Regions from separate parts of the Homo sapiens genome. Here all the other regions are linked to region 1. Evidence: promoter capture Hi-C in 16 types of primary human blood cells and fetal thymus (Javierre and others, 2016). All regions are on one chromosome and are shown on one strand. Each heading gives the region's core, a stretch centred on a gene start or on the middle of the fragment in contact. The rest is flanking DNA. Distances are from core to core; before and after follow the strand shown.

The links. Contacts are between HindIII fragments. The CHiCAGO score rates a contact against its expected background, and 5 or more counts as called.
Region 2: a fragment that was not itself captured here is called in contact with the fragment with the promoter of STXBP5 in region 1 in 2 of 17 cell types (total B cells and fetal thymus); the score reaches 6.0 in total B cells.
Region 3: a contact is called between the fragment with the promoter of EPM2A here and the fragment with the promoter of STXBP5 in region 1, in 2 of 17 cell types (fetal thymus and total B cells). The highest score is 8.2, in fetal thymus.

What each region holds. Positions count from the first base shown.
Region 1 is chr6:147,201,983-147,206,314 of GRCh38, reverse strand. It overlaps STXBP5 (syntaxin binding protein 5), which reads right to left and starts at 1,898. Exons shown (of 28, transcript NM_001127715.4): 1 at 1,633-1,898; 2 at 247-344. The coding sequence starts at 1,782. STXBP5-AS1 (STXBP5 antisense RNA 1) reads left to right here and starts at 1,701. Exons shown (of 11, transcript NR_034115.1): 1 at 1,701-1,902. LOC124901422 (a long non-coding RNA gene) reads left to right here and starts at 2,744. Exons shown (of 2, transcript XR_007059803.1): 1 at 2,744-3,499; 2 at 4,022-4,332. RefSeq lists silencers at 1,756-1,945, 2,116-2,195, 2,216-2,265, 2,296-2,715. The HindIII fragment of the contact is 4,433 bases long and covers 1,327-4,332 here.
Region 2 is chr6:145,807,280-145,811,325 of GRCh38, reverse strand. All of the region lies in intron 1 of FBXO30 (F-box protein 30), which reads left to right. The region is part of intron 1 of EPM2A-DT (EPM2A divergent transcript); the gene reads right to left. Among named protein-coding and RNA genes, the nearest start is that of FBXO30, 5.5 kb to the left of the region's middle. The HindIII fragment of the contact is 245 bases long and covers 1,730-1,974 here.
Region 3 is chr6:145,733,233-145,737,686 of GRCh38, reverse strand. It overlaps EPM2A (EPM2A glucan phosphatase, laforin), which reads left to right and starts at 2,167. Exons shown (of 4, transcript NM_005670.4): 1 at 2,167-2,489. The coding sequence starts at 2,189. It overlaps EPM2A-DT (EPM2A divergent transcript), which reads right to left and starts at 2,818. Exons shown (of 3, transcript NR_038246.1): 1 at 2,767-2,818. RefSeq lists enhancers at 1,753-1,802, 1,823-1,872, 1,883-1,942 and a silencer at 2,103-2,692. The HindIII fragment of the contact is 8,125 bases long and covers 861-4,454 here.

The DNA of each region.
Region 1 (4,332 bases), core at 649-3,148:
ATCATAAAAAAACTTTAGACCTCTATTTGGATATATGTTTAGCTACTATAAACTAGGAGCTGAGAAACATCACAGCAGTATATAAGCTGAATTATAATCAAGGGAAAAGCCAACACATGATTTCTCATAGTATATATCTAATCACACCAACAGGAAAATAAAAACTTTCTTTGGAACTAATCAGCAACACAGAAGGACTGGGGAGAACAAAGTAGAAGTTAAAAAATAAAATTAAAGAAAGGATACAGCCTTAAAGCACCAGTCTGAGTTCCCACTGCCAGGATCTTCTGTACAGGATCAAAGGCCAGGGCTGAGGGTTGATAGGGAAATCCATGGCGAACAGTCTAGGGATGGGCAAGTGACATCACAGCAACCAAGGCAGCAAGCGAAATTTTAAAATAGAAAGTCAATAGAGGCGTTAGAATTTAGAACCACTACCACTGATGCAAAACACATACACATGCACTTACTGCTTTTGAAAAAATAAGTGAAACCTACATTAACAAAGTTATTCACATAGAACCTGAAACAAACAAAAATCTAGTCCAGTGATATACTTTAATTTCGCTTTTCCATAATACTGGTATTCCATAGAAGAAAATCTTTTATTAATATTCTATACTACTACATCCGACACCAGATGACTAAAGTTTGCAATGGTCCAAAATTCTGTAAACCCATTAAATGCAATTCATACTTTATTTTGGCAGTATTCATTTCATCATTACTTTATTTGGATGCTAACGCAAGTACTTCTAAGGAAAAGCTGTCATATAATTACTTTAGTCAAGCATTCAGTAGAGCAATAATCAAACCTCTATCCCAACATTTTACACTTGTAACAGAATGAAGATGAGTACAACATACATTTTTGCAATTTACTATTAAGGCCATAATCATTTTAGGGCATTAGACCTATATATATATATATATATATATATATGCACACTTTTAATTAACTCTGACATACAAATACATGGCTATTTATGAGAAAGGCAGGTATTAAAACCGAGGCAAGTTTGTGTTTCTCATTAAGCAGCTGGTGACTTAATTCGCTGCATCATTCTTTCTGAATTACAGAACGCTATGGCAATTATCGTGCCATTAACAGGCAAAAATCTCAGTACTTTTTAACAAACATAATGATAAAAAGAACCCTGTGATTTCATATCGTAAGCCACTTACACCACATTTTAAGGGAAAAGTGATGAGCAAAGGTGTGGTAGAACAGGTTTGGCTTTTTGATAAACAACATTCATTAGACACCGTTTCCAAAGGAAACTTCGAAGTTGGTGAATCATATTAAAACGCTTGAATATAAAAGCTTCCAGGTTATTACTGGCAGTGTCAGAATACGATTAAAGGTCGGATAATAGTTTGAAGCAACCTTGAACTGATTGCTGCATGTGCAAAGGGGAGAGAGAAAAATCAATGAAAAGGAGTAAGGTATCAATCTCCAAAACAACCCACCGAAGAAACGTTTGCCAAGGGAGGAGCGAGCCTTTTATTAGAGTTATTATTATTATTATTGGCGTTCTCTTCCCTTGCATTCCCATGTAAAGCCCGAGTAGCCCCCTTAAAACAACCCCAATTTTTCAATGACGGTGTCGCGGGGCTGCGCGCTCCGTTCACCTTGCAGAGCTGAAAGTGCTCGGACTGGAGCGTTTCCTGGATCTCCGGCTCCCGGTTCCCAGGCGGATGCTGCTGCTGTTGCTGCTGCGACGCCGAGGACGAGCCGGCGGTCAGGCCGTCCAGCACCTTCCTGATGTTGAATTTCCTCATGGTCTCGGAGGGGCTCCCCCGCAGCCCGGGAGGGGAGGCACAGGGGGTCCCCGGGCGGGGGAGACCACCCGGGGCCGAAGGCAGCTTCGACCGCGGAAACGGAGGAGTGGGAGTGTGAGGGTAAGGAGGCAGCTGGGGGGAAGCAAAAGATAATCCGAACAGGAAATACTGCGACGACAAGAGCGGCGGCCGCAAGAAACCTGGGCGGCGACCCCTCTTCCTCCGAGGCCGCCGCTGCTTGGCGCGGCTGCTGTGGTGCCGATTCAGCCGCCGCCGCCGCCGCCTCGCTCCGCGGCCCGGCAGCAGCAGCAGCAGCAGTGGCGGCGGCGCCCGAGCCCGCTCAGCCCAGCCTCACCTGGCCGCGGGCGGACTCTGCGCCGCGCCGCCGCCCCGGCTCGCCCCCGGCGCCGCCACCGTCGCCGCTGCGTCCATGGCCCGCGGCCGCGCCGCTGCTCGCCCGCCCCGGCCCCGCAGTCCCTCGGCGCGTCCTCCGGCTCCTTCTCCTCCTGCCGGGGGTCGCCGGCTCTCTGTCCGCGGCCGCCGCTCGGCCTCGCACACAAGGCGCCTGGTGTGGGTCCCCGCGCCGCCTGCCTCGCCCCGCCTCGCTCCTCCGCCGCTGGACCGGCCCGCCCTCGCCGCTCCCGAGCCCGGCTGCGTTCCTCAGGCGCCGCCGCGGCCGTCGGCTCTCCCCGCCCAGCCGCTCCCCATCGCCTGACAGGGCGCCTCGGCACACGGCACCAACGCCCGCCCGGAGCAGCAGCGGCAGCCGCGGTTACAGCGCGGGCCGCGGCGGTGGCGGCAGCAGGGCCTCCCAGGAGCCGGGCTGCGGTACCTGCGCATGCGCGCCGCAGCCCGGTTCCCCCACCCTGGCCCAGCAGGCCCCCAGCCCCCCAGCCCGAGCGAAGCTGGGGCTTAAATTATCTTCTGCGAAAATCCCAGACGCTGGCTAAATTTCTCCCACCCCAGTCGAGTTGCCAGAGTATGCAGCTGCTTCTCTTGCAGCTGGCATAGTAAAAATGTTGACGACTAACAAGCAGCAGGAAACCTTTCTTTCCAATTCAGTCATTACAGCAGGGGTTGATGCTTTCTCGCCGTTAATGGGGTGCACGCTCCTGGCCGCTGGCTGCAGTATTATTTTTCTTGCTTTATTGACGGGCGTTGTTTTTGTTTGATTGGATTTGAGTTTTGAAAAAGAGCGTCTAGACAACGATATGTCAGTGGCAGGAGGATGATGGACTTAGGTACTAGGAAAAGGAGAGAAACCTAGACGGGAAAAAACGGGTTCTTTCCTACAGCTGTTACTGTTGGTGGAACGTGTCTGGTCTTAGCAGTTAGCTGCTGGGATGGAAGAGGCTGCCAGCGGGGAACGGTTCCAGGGCCGGTGTCAGCCCGGGCCGATGACACTACCCCGCACCCAGCCCCTCGCCGGGGAGGAGCGCGGGTGGCAGGAAACGCCGCGCTGCCACTATTTTTCAGAACCTTCAATCTGCCCTGACGCTGATGAGCCACTCAGTAATGCCCTGGGAGCTTCACTCTAGAACGGGGAAAGGGGGATAGGATGAAGTTTTTGCTCAGATCTTTCCGAGGCCGCACTGCCCATCTCGCGTGAATGCTTGGAGACAAATGCCTGGCTCAAGTTGGAAAAGACAGACAAGAGATTGTGCCGGGGAAACCCCCCGGAGAGTGCGTTCAACAGGACAGGTGGACGGAAGCACAGGTACTTGATTAGGAAGGATGTGGAAATAGGAAAGACGTAAGGAAGGAAGGAAGTGCAGGAAGACTAATCCTAATTCGGGGAGAGGGGGACAGGTTCCTAGCGAATGACTCCTCGCGCGCTCTGGTCTGCGGAAAAGCCACGGAACCGCCACAAAGGGTTTTTTTAAGTTCCAAACCTGTCAGAAGCACCCGCCCTCTTCTTTGTGAGGTCGGCTCCCTCTCCTTTAGGGAAATTCTCGTCACCCTATTGGTTGAGTTAACCAGCATTCAAAAGCAGTCAGCGAACCAACTACGACTGGGCCCAGGGATTTCGGGAAATGTAGTCCACTCTGCAGCTTCCGCATCCCAGGACGATGTCTTGCATTTGGAACCTACAAAATTTTGATTTGTCGTTTAATATTTATTGAATTAGTTGATTCGCTGGGTGCAACGACCAAGAAAACAAATGTGAGGACATTCCTAAACTATTTCCAAGTGGCTCTGAATTTTTTATTAATTTAGTTCTCTAACATTTTGTTGTCAGGCGGTGTGCTAGGTACTAAAGACACGAAAATGCAATCCTTGCTTTCAGCAAGCTCACTACGGTCTAACGGAGACGACTTTTAACATAAATAGTAATTGTAAAACGATGTGATGAGTCCAATGATGGAATAATGAAGGAGGACGGCAGAGGGCCACTTAACTGGCCAGGAAGGCTTGGACATGGTGACGCCCACCATAGATCATGCCGGATAAGGAGGAGCAGACCTAGCGAACAGGAGGCAAAGACCATTGGAAGACAATGGGGAAGAGAGCCTCAGAATTACCTTGAGAGCTTTTTAAAAGTACATGTGA
Region 2 (4,046 bases), core at 603-3,102, 1.4 Mb after region 1:
ACAATGAAGTAATTTTGATTCAGTTTGATTGATGCCAGATCTGTAAGGTATTTTTATGTGGAATATGTAGTTTTCTGTGAAATGAAGAATCTCATTTGTCCATTTCATTATTTTCTTATATTATAATTCTTCGTATATTTAATACAAATGAGTCTCTAATTGAGGCAGAATTTTGAATGTAGGGAACATAAGAATGAATGAGACTGAGATGATTCTGACTTTCATGGAGCTTATAGCTTTCCTGTGGAAATAGATATTATACAGAATGATGACTTACTTAGAGTTGTCACTAGTATTACCAAGGAAAAAGACAGTATGTAATGAGTACACACAATATGGGATCCATTACCTTGTCTTTGGAGTATGTGGAAAAGTAACAGGTAAGCCAAGACTTAGGGTTGAGGCAGCAGGGGCGTGTGGGGAGGAAAAGGGATGTGTGTCTGTGTCTGTGTGTTAGAGGTAGAGGCAGACATTAGGAACAGCCTGGAGGCAGCAGGTTATTTTGAATACATTAGATGACTCTTATATTTTAAAATCATGCTAATTTGCACTTCTTTATATTTACTTACCTCCTTATGTATTTTAATGAATTTTTTAAAAATGCTTTTTTGAGGGCAATATATTTATGCCTTTAATGACAAGATCTCATTTCATTATATGGGAAAATGCCATGTCTTAGAACTATTTTAATGAATTGCTTGTCAGCCACAGAGTATGAGTTGGCAAAGAACTTCTCTCAGAGAAAATTGAAAGAATTGAAAACATTTGATGATTTACTAATATTTTCTGGTCCAGCGAAACTTTTCCAACAATTTAAATTCAAATATAAATTATTAGAGATGTTAGTTGTTTTCTACTGTGCCTACTGTGTCACTGTTAACTGATAAATAAGAGATTGATGTTTTTAAACCTGTTTTACAGGATTTACAAGCAATTGCAAAATACTTTATAAAGGCATGTTTAATTTGATAGTAGTGGTCTTGATTAGGAAGAGGATGAATCTAGGAGAGTTTTAAATTCTGAAGCTGAGGATTCTATTCCCAGAATACTCTTGAGTATTGACTACTATATTTTCTTAACTTTTTTCTTAATATAGTTAATAGGAAAATGGAATTGAAATTCACTCCTCATTTGTATGGCTATTTTAATAATTGTTAAATTTAGTAATATAATGTTCCATACACTTATACTGAGCATTATCTATGTAAATTATTCTTCAAATAATTTAAAACATATATATTCAAAGCAGAGTAAAATGCTATTATAATTGGAAGGGACCAAAAGACTTTCTTGACCACAGGAGTGATTAAGTGTTGGGATAAACTACAAGCAAAGTTGTGTAATCTCCATTCTTCACATAACATCTTAACATTGGATCACCAGTTACAGAAGTGCTGCCTAAGTTTTTTAAACTTTTATAAGTAAACATACCTGTTATTGTCCATGGATGTTGATCAGACGTGGAGCTAGAACATACAGTCCTAGCTCTGCCACTTACTAGGTAGATGACCTTGGGCAGATCACTTGCTCTTTCTGAACCTCAGTTTCCTCCAGGTTGTTATAAAGATGTGTAAAGAAGGATAAAATAGGTACATAATTACTGTTCTCTCTTCCTTCTAAGTCTACTTCAGAAAATAATAAATGTTATGAACTTGTTGCTATGGATGCTTTTTTGAAACCTTATTCAAAGGGGGATGGGTAGTGTAAAAGAGACTATTTGTTTGAAGCTTGACTACTTTCCTTCTACCTTTGAAAATTATTGCTGTTTTTGCTTTTAACTCAGACCCTGTTGCAAGCAGTTGCTATTTTAAGCACTTTTGAATTAAGTGATGTTTTTAAGATATGTTTTGCCTGGTGATGTCATGTGATGGTGTGTACAGTAACATAAAGTGTCCCTAAAACTTCTGAGAGCACTGGTTACTTCTGGTGAAACTGCTTGTATTTTTAGGTTTCTCCCTTAGTAACAGTCAAGCTTGTAACCTTCAGCATGTGAGATCAACTCAGTCTAGTTCCTGCAAAATAAGAAAGCTACAGCTGTTTTCACAGTCTAATCACTCAGTAAGATTTGTCATAATTCTTAATAAAGTTTTTCTTTAAATGTCTGGTTAATTTACAAATGTTTGTTATTAGTCTTTTATTTCTATATGACTATTTTAGTATGTCTATTTATATATTTCTATACTTATGTCTAAAATTCATGAAGATAAACATTTAAAAGTATTCAACTCATAATTTGTAGTTTTTAACACAATTAAAAAATATAGGTTTGGCGTTGAATATATACCTTGTCTTTTCTTTGACATCATTGAACACCATAATATCAACTCGGAACTTTTCTACTGAATCAAGAAAAGCTCTGTTGATGATGATTCAGGTACACTTTTGTTATTTTAGTTTGAGAAAACTCATACCTCAACTGGAGAAAAAGATAATAGCAATTGAGGAGTGATTAATTAGTTACCTGGAGCCAAGATAGATTTTATGGAAAAATATGTCAGAGAGTTAATAATCTCTTACGCACTGAGGTGAAGAAAACAGGATAAGAATCACCTTCCTATCCAGAAAATTCTTGTCTACTACAATGTAATTTAATTTTGGAAATGTTGAACTGAGTTGCCTGTGCCATATACAAGTAGAAATATATCATAAGTAATCCATTGTAGAGAGTGAAGAGGAGTTTGAAAGAGGAATCTGGGCAGCATGTATAGACGGATTTTCAGCTTATGTATGGTAATTGAAACTTTTGGAGAAAATGAGAGCACCCAGGGAGAATGTACAGAATAAGCAAAAAATGACACAAGCCCTGAAGAAATGCAATATTTAAATAATTATTATTGAGTAATAGTTAAGAAGACTAAGGGTAGGAGAAAGACTGGAGTGACATCATGAAAAGTAAGAGGATGTAATAGTCCTAAAATAAGGGATTAGTCATCATCAGGATACAATGGCCAAGGAAGATGGGGTCTAGAAAAATATGCCTCCAGATTTAGTATTGAGGTTCTCAGCAGAGCAGTTTTAATAGGGGTAGTAAAAATGGGGCCAGAATAGAGAGTTAAAGAATATATAGGAAATTAGACGTTTTTTTTTGGTGGTTTTCAGTTTTTCTTTTGAAAGTTTGACTGGATAAGAAAAAAAAAATGGTGGTAAAGGGGGGATATTATGTTATTATTTCAATTATTATTATTATTTTTTGAGACAGAGCCTCACTCTGTCACCCAGGCTGGAATGCAGGGGTGCACAGTCATGGCTTACTGCAGCCTCAATCTCCTGGGCTCATTTGAGCCTCCTGCCTTGGCCTCCCAAGTAGTTGGGACTACAGGTGCATGTCACTATGCCTGGCTAATTTTTTTGTTTTTATTTTGTAGAGACAGGGTCTTGCTATGTTGTCCAGGCTGGTCTTGAACTCCAGGCCTCAAATGACCCTCCTATGTTGGCCTCCCAAAGTGCTGGGATTACAGGTTTGAGCCACCGTGACTATTATTTTAGTTTTTAAAGGTTAAATAATCTTTTAAAGTTTTTATTGCTAATAGGAAACACACCAGTAAAGAAGTTGATTATACTAAAAATACATTGAATAGGCTCAATAATTATAATTAAGTCAATATATTATGGTTAGACTTTTATTTTTCATATAAAACTTTTCTTTATAAAGGTTATGATGGAAATTTTAAAGCAGGGAAGACCATTAGACATCTATAATCCATTCATGTTATTTTATAGAACTATTTCTCTGCTTAAAATTCTCAGTGACTTCCAGTTGTAAAAGTGTGAACTCTTTGGAGCAGCATAAAGCACTCATCATGATTTGCCTTATTCCTTTCTGACCTCATCTCTTACAGATACCTGGCATTTTCCCCTGTGATCCAACAATACTAGGGAACTTGAGGTTTTGCTAATTCATGCTTTTCTGTATTTGCATATGCTATTACTTCTGCATTGAATGCCTCTCTTTCTTACCAGTTTACCGTCCCATACTTAAGACTTCTCTTTCAAGACTACTGTGATTTATTCTCTAATCCCTACTCATATTGATTATTATCTTCTCT
Region 3 (4,454 bases), core at 918-3,417, 1.5 Mb after region 1:
TTTTAGCCCCTGGCTCTGCCCCTTCCTTGCTGTGGGCTGTTCATTGGACCCTTTTGTGCTGAAGTATCCTCACATCTAAAAATGGGGGTAACAATTGTAGTTACCTTATAGGATTGGTGAGAGACTTAAATAAGATAATATGAGTACGAAAACCATGTGCCTGGCCCATAATATAGGCTCAATGGATATTATCATGGTTAATACTTATACATCCAAATGACTGACCGTCAAAATATGATCAAGGCCTTGATATATGTCCCTTAAGCCCTATTTTGGTCTTGTTCTCCTTTCCAGTTGCATTTTACTTACTACACAGTGCAGCTATCCAATTTATACCTTATTTAAATCCTTGCCATAAAATAAGCTATTACAAATTTTGTTTAGGGGCTTAAGAGGGTTACTTCTTCCAATGGTTAAAATTATTTCAACCTCTTTATGATGAAAGAAGAGTAAAGGAAACAATGTCCGTTGAGCAAAGATATTGTTTAATTTTTCCGCTACTGTTTCTTCTACAGAATGGGCAGAACTCACTCTGGAAGAGCTGGTGGGAATAATGCCATTTGGGAAGCACACAACATAGGCAGCACAGTGGAGCACAAGAAAGTCCGGAGCTGTTAGCTCCCAGGTCCTGAAGGAATGAGAACTTTCACCGGAGTCTGGATTCCACTGTAGACAAAATCCTCTCTGCATCGCCAAATGACTCTTATTTTCCTAAACTTACTCTAAGAATATCTTTTAACAGCAATTTGAATAAACCGACTCACATGCCACTGTGATTTAATGTGTGATTTGCTGCCGAATCAGCTGTGTTTGGCCAGCCCTTCTGTCTTCACATTTTTCATAGTGTTTATCCTTAAGCTTAGCAACCAACCAAACTTCGAGTGGAATATCAACATTCAAGAGTAAAATGTATTATTAGTTTTCTAATTGTTCCACAAGAGATTGAGTTTGTGTAGTTTACATTTTTGCACTTTCTGTTTTACTTATATCCTCAACGCATGAAATTTTGGCCTGTTCCCCTTTACTATTCACAAACTTCCAAACACTGGTAAAAATGCCTTTGTGTGTCTTTAATTCACGTAACAGATTTGTGTTATGTTAAATGTTAGTGAATATATAAACCTAAGAATACAAGGATAATTTTGTTAAAGAATCAAAAAGTATCAGGACATTCGTTTGTCTTATGGCAGAGACAAATTGAAGTTCCCCACCAAGATATACGTATTTTGGATTTGGGCCAGACAGCTAAAAAACCTGTTTCAACTTAAAACCCAAAAAGGTTTTAAGTTGAAAAAATAATGCTGACTTTTGCTGAAAGTAAATTTTAAACAAAGGTTTTTTTTTTTAATTTACTCCATTAAAAATGCATACATTTGGACAGAGCGAGACTCTGTCTCAAAAAAAAAAAAAAAAGCATACATTTGTAGTCACAGAATTAGTTTTTGTTTTGACCTTGAAAAGGACTTGAAAGTATTTACTCCAAACTTACTTTACACATACTAAAAATATAGTTTTTGAAAAAAGAAAGTTGATGTGGCTTTTCAGACAAGGGAATGGTAGGTAATGTTTTGCATCAGCTCCGGGTCTTGGGTGATCTCCACCAATCAGAGATCCTTCAGAGCTCGTAGGGTCTAGAAAGATCATTATTTTACACCCTCATTTTACAGACAAAGAACCTGAGACCTGCTAGAGTAAGTGACTTGGTTAAGATAGGGAGCGCTCCAGAGACCAGGTCCAAGATCTTCCCCCGTTTCACAATTAGAAGGCGGCTGTCTAGAGGTCATTCCCTTCCTTATGATCCTCATAAAGTTAATTTCCAGTCTCTTGGAGAGAGAACTGGACGATCGCCTGGCTTAGAAGTTTTCCTCCCTCCCCGAACCCCGTTTTCTCTTCCATTTCTTCCGGTCGCGTGTCCCCAGCGCCCACAGGTGGAAATCAACCGCCCGCGGGGTTGCGGGGCACAAAGAGGCAGCTAGCGGCTCCGCTGACCCCTTCCCGCCGGCCTGGACGAAGTCTGGGCTCGGGAGCCGCGTGATGCATCCCAAAGAAGGCGCAGAACAGCACGTGTTCTCCCCGGTGCCCGGGGCTCCCACACCACCGCCCAATCGCTGCGGCCGCCTAGTGCTCGGGCCGCGCCTGCCGGCCGCGGGGACTCCGGGCCCGGGTATTCGCGCCGCCGCCGCCCGCCATGCGCTTCCGCTTTGGGGTGGTGGTGCCACCCGCCGTGGCCGGCGCCCGGCCGGAGCTGCTGGTGGTGGGGTCGCGGCCCGAGCTGGGGCGTTGGGAGCCGCGCGGTGCCGTCCGCCTGAGGCCGGCCGGCACCGCGGCGGGCGACGGGGCCCTGGCCCTGCAGGAGCCGGGCCTGTGGCTCGGGGAGGTGGAGCTGGCGGCCGAGGAGGCGGCGCAGGACGGGGCGGAGCCGGGCCGCGTGGACACGTTCTGGTACAAGTTCCTGAAGCGGGAGCCGGGAGGAGAGCTCTCCTGGGAAGGTATTGCCAGCAGACGCCTGCCCCCGGCGCAGAGCGGGAGCTCCGGCCCGCACCCCCAACCGGGGCCTCGGCCTCGGGCAGGCCCCGCAGGCCCCGGCGGCGCGCGTCCCGGGCTTTTTGCCCGCGTCCCTGCGCACTCCCCGGGCGACCTGGGCTGACCCTGCTCTGCCGGCCACGCTGTCGCCGCCAGCCGCGCCTCCGGCTTCCTACTGATTCCCTAGACCCGTATAGCGCTCCCGGCCGCCTTCCCGCCCACTCTGTTGCCTGCCCCTCTGACCTGGTTTCCGCACATCCAGTCCTCAGCTTCTTTCCAACCGCGCCTGCGTCACGGGCCAGTGCCCTTCGTCTCCCGCCCGGGGCTCCCTTCGCCCTCCGAGTGCCCCTCGACCTCCGAGTCCCCCCCTTCGCGGGTCCCTTGGCTGCCCGGCCGCGCGCCGCTGATGGCTTCAACAGCCCAACTCCGCCTTGGTTGGGTTTTGTGTCCTCATTTTCCTGCTCTAATTCACTAAAAAAAACCCAAAACGATCCAACCAACGAAACTAGCGTTTTCGCTAATCCTAGACAGCAATGTGCTACTTAGATTTTTTTCATAGATATTGAGAATGAACTAATGGAAAAACGTTGAATATTTCCCTTTTTGGATTTTTTTTTCTTTTTTAATCCCAGATATATGACAATTGAGACATGACCTGATTTCTTAAAATACTAAAACAATACATGCTGGTTGTAAAATAATAATAAAGAAATGTACATAGTGAAAACTTACAGTGTTTCCTCCACACATCTTAAGCACACTGCTTGTACACATTTATGTATGTGATATATGCATATACTTTTTTTTTTTACAAAAATTGTATAGTAATTCTGAATTTTTGCTTTTCTTGCCTAACAATATGTTAGGGACATCTTTCACTGTCACTACACGTAGATATGTATTTTACATGTAGATGTATATTTTAAATGGCAACAAATTATTCTGCATCTACCAATGTGCATTTAGGTTCTTTTCAGTTTTCCTCTGTCGTAAACAGTAGTGGCTTAATTGAAATTCCTTTTACAGATATCTTTGAACATTCGGGAGTGTTTCTGCAGAGTGGATTCAAAGAAGTGAAATTATTAGGTCAAAATGCAGTCATTTTTTTTAACACTTCATTAAAGACTGCTAAATTATGCCCTAAAAGGGTGATTATCTAATGTCGGCTCCCGCCAACAGTGTCTGAATTGAGACAGCTCCTTTCTTTAAAGGAAATGTGCAAGGTTGTAGACTGGAGTGGGTGTGACTCAATAGTTGAAGTCAATGAAATGAATGTCTCTTTAGAAGTTTATATGAAAAAAAAAATGGGCCATTTAGCCTGTAATGATGTAGAAACAAAGAATCAGTAAAGAAGATTAGAGTGGAATGTGTTTATATATTATCCTTGTTCTCCTTCTCTACCTCACTGGGCTTATGGTCTGGTAGCATTTATTGGTCTGTTATTTTACCATGACAGAATTGAAAGATACCCTCTTCAGTTTATCCTTTCTTTACAGAGTATTACTATTTTTCATAGTATTGTAGAATTATTTTTTAAAATAATATCTGATAATTGTAATAAAAATGGAAATGGTGTGAAACAAAGATCTTCCCTTTCCCTAGTTATTTAGCTTTTCTGATAGTCCTCCCTATGCCGTTAATAGTTTGCTTATGTTGCTATTTCTTAAGGTACCACAAACTTTTGTTTTTAATTTTTCTAATAGTTACCATATAAGTTATATATAATTTTAAAAGTTAAAATTAGGCAATAGATATTGACACCTACTGGATGCTCATAAAATTAACCATCACACTTGTTATGAAATATGAGGAATTTAGCTCAAGTTCACTCTCTGTCTTCCCTGCTGATTTTTTTTTACTATTATTTTCAGTTTTTTTGATAAATATTTTTCTTTACTATCCAAGCAGGAATTATTTTCAGTTTTGTATTA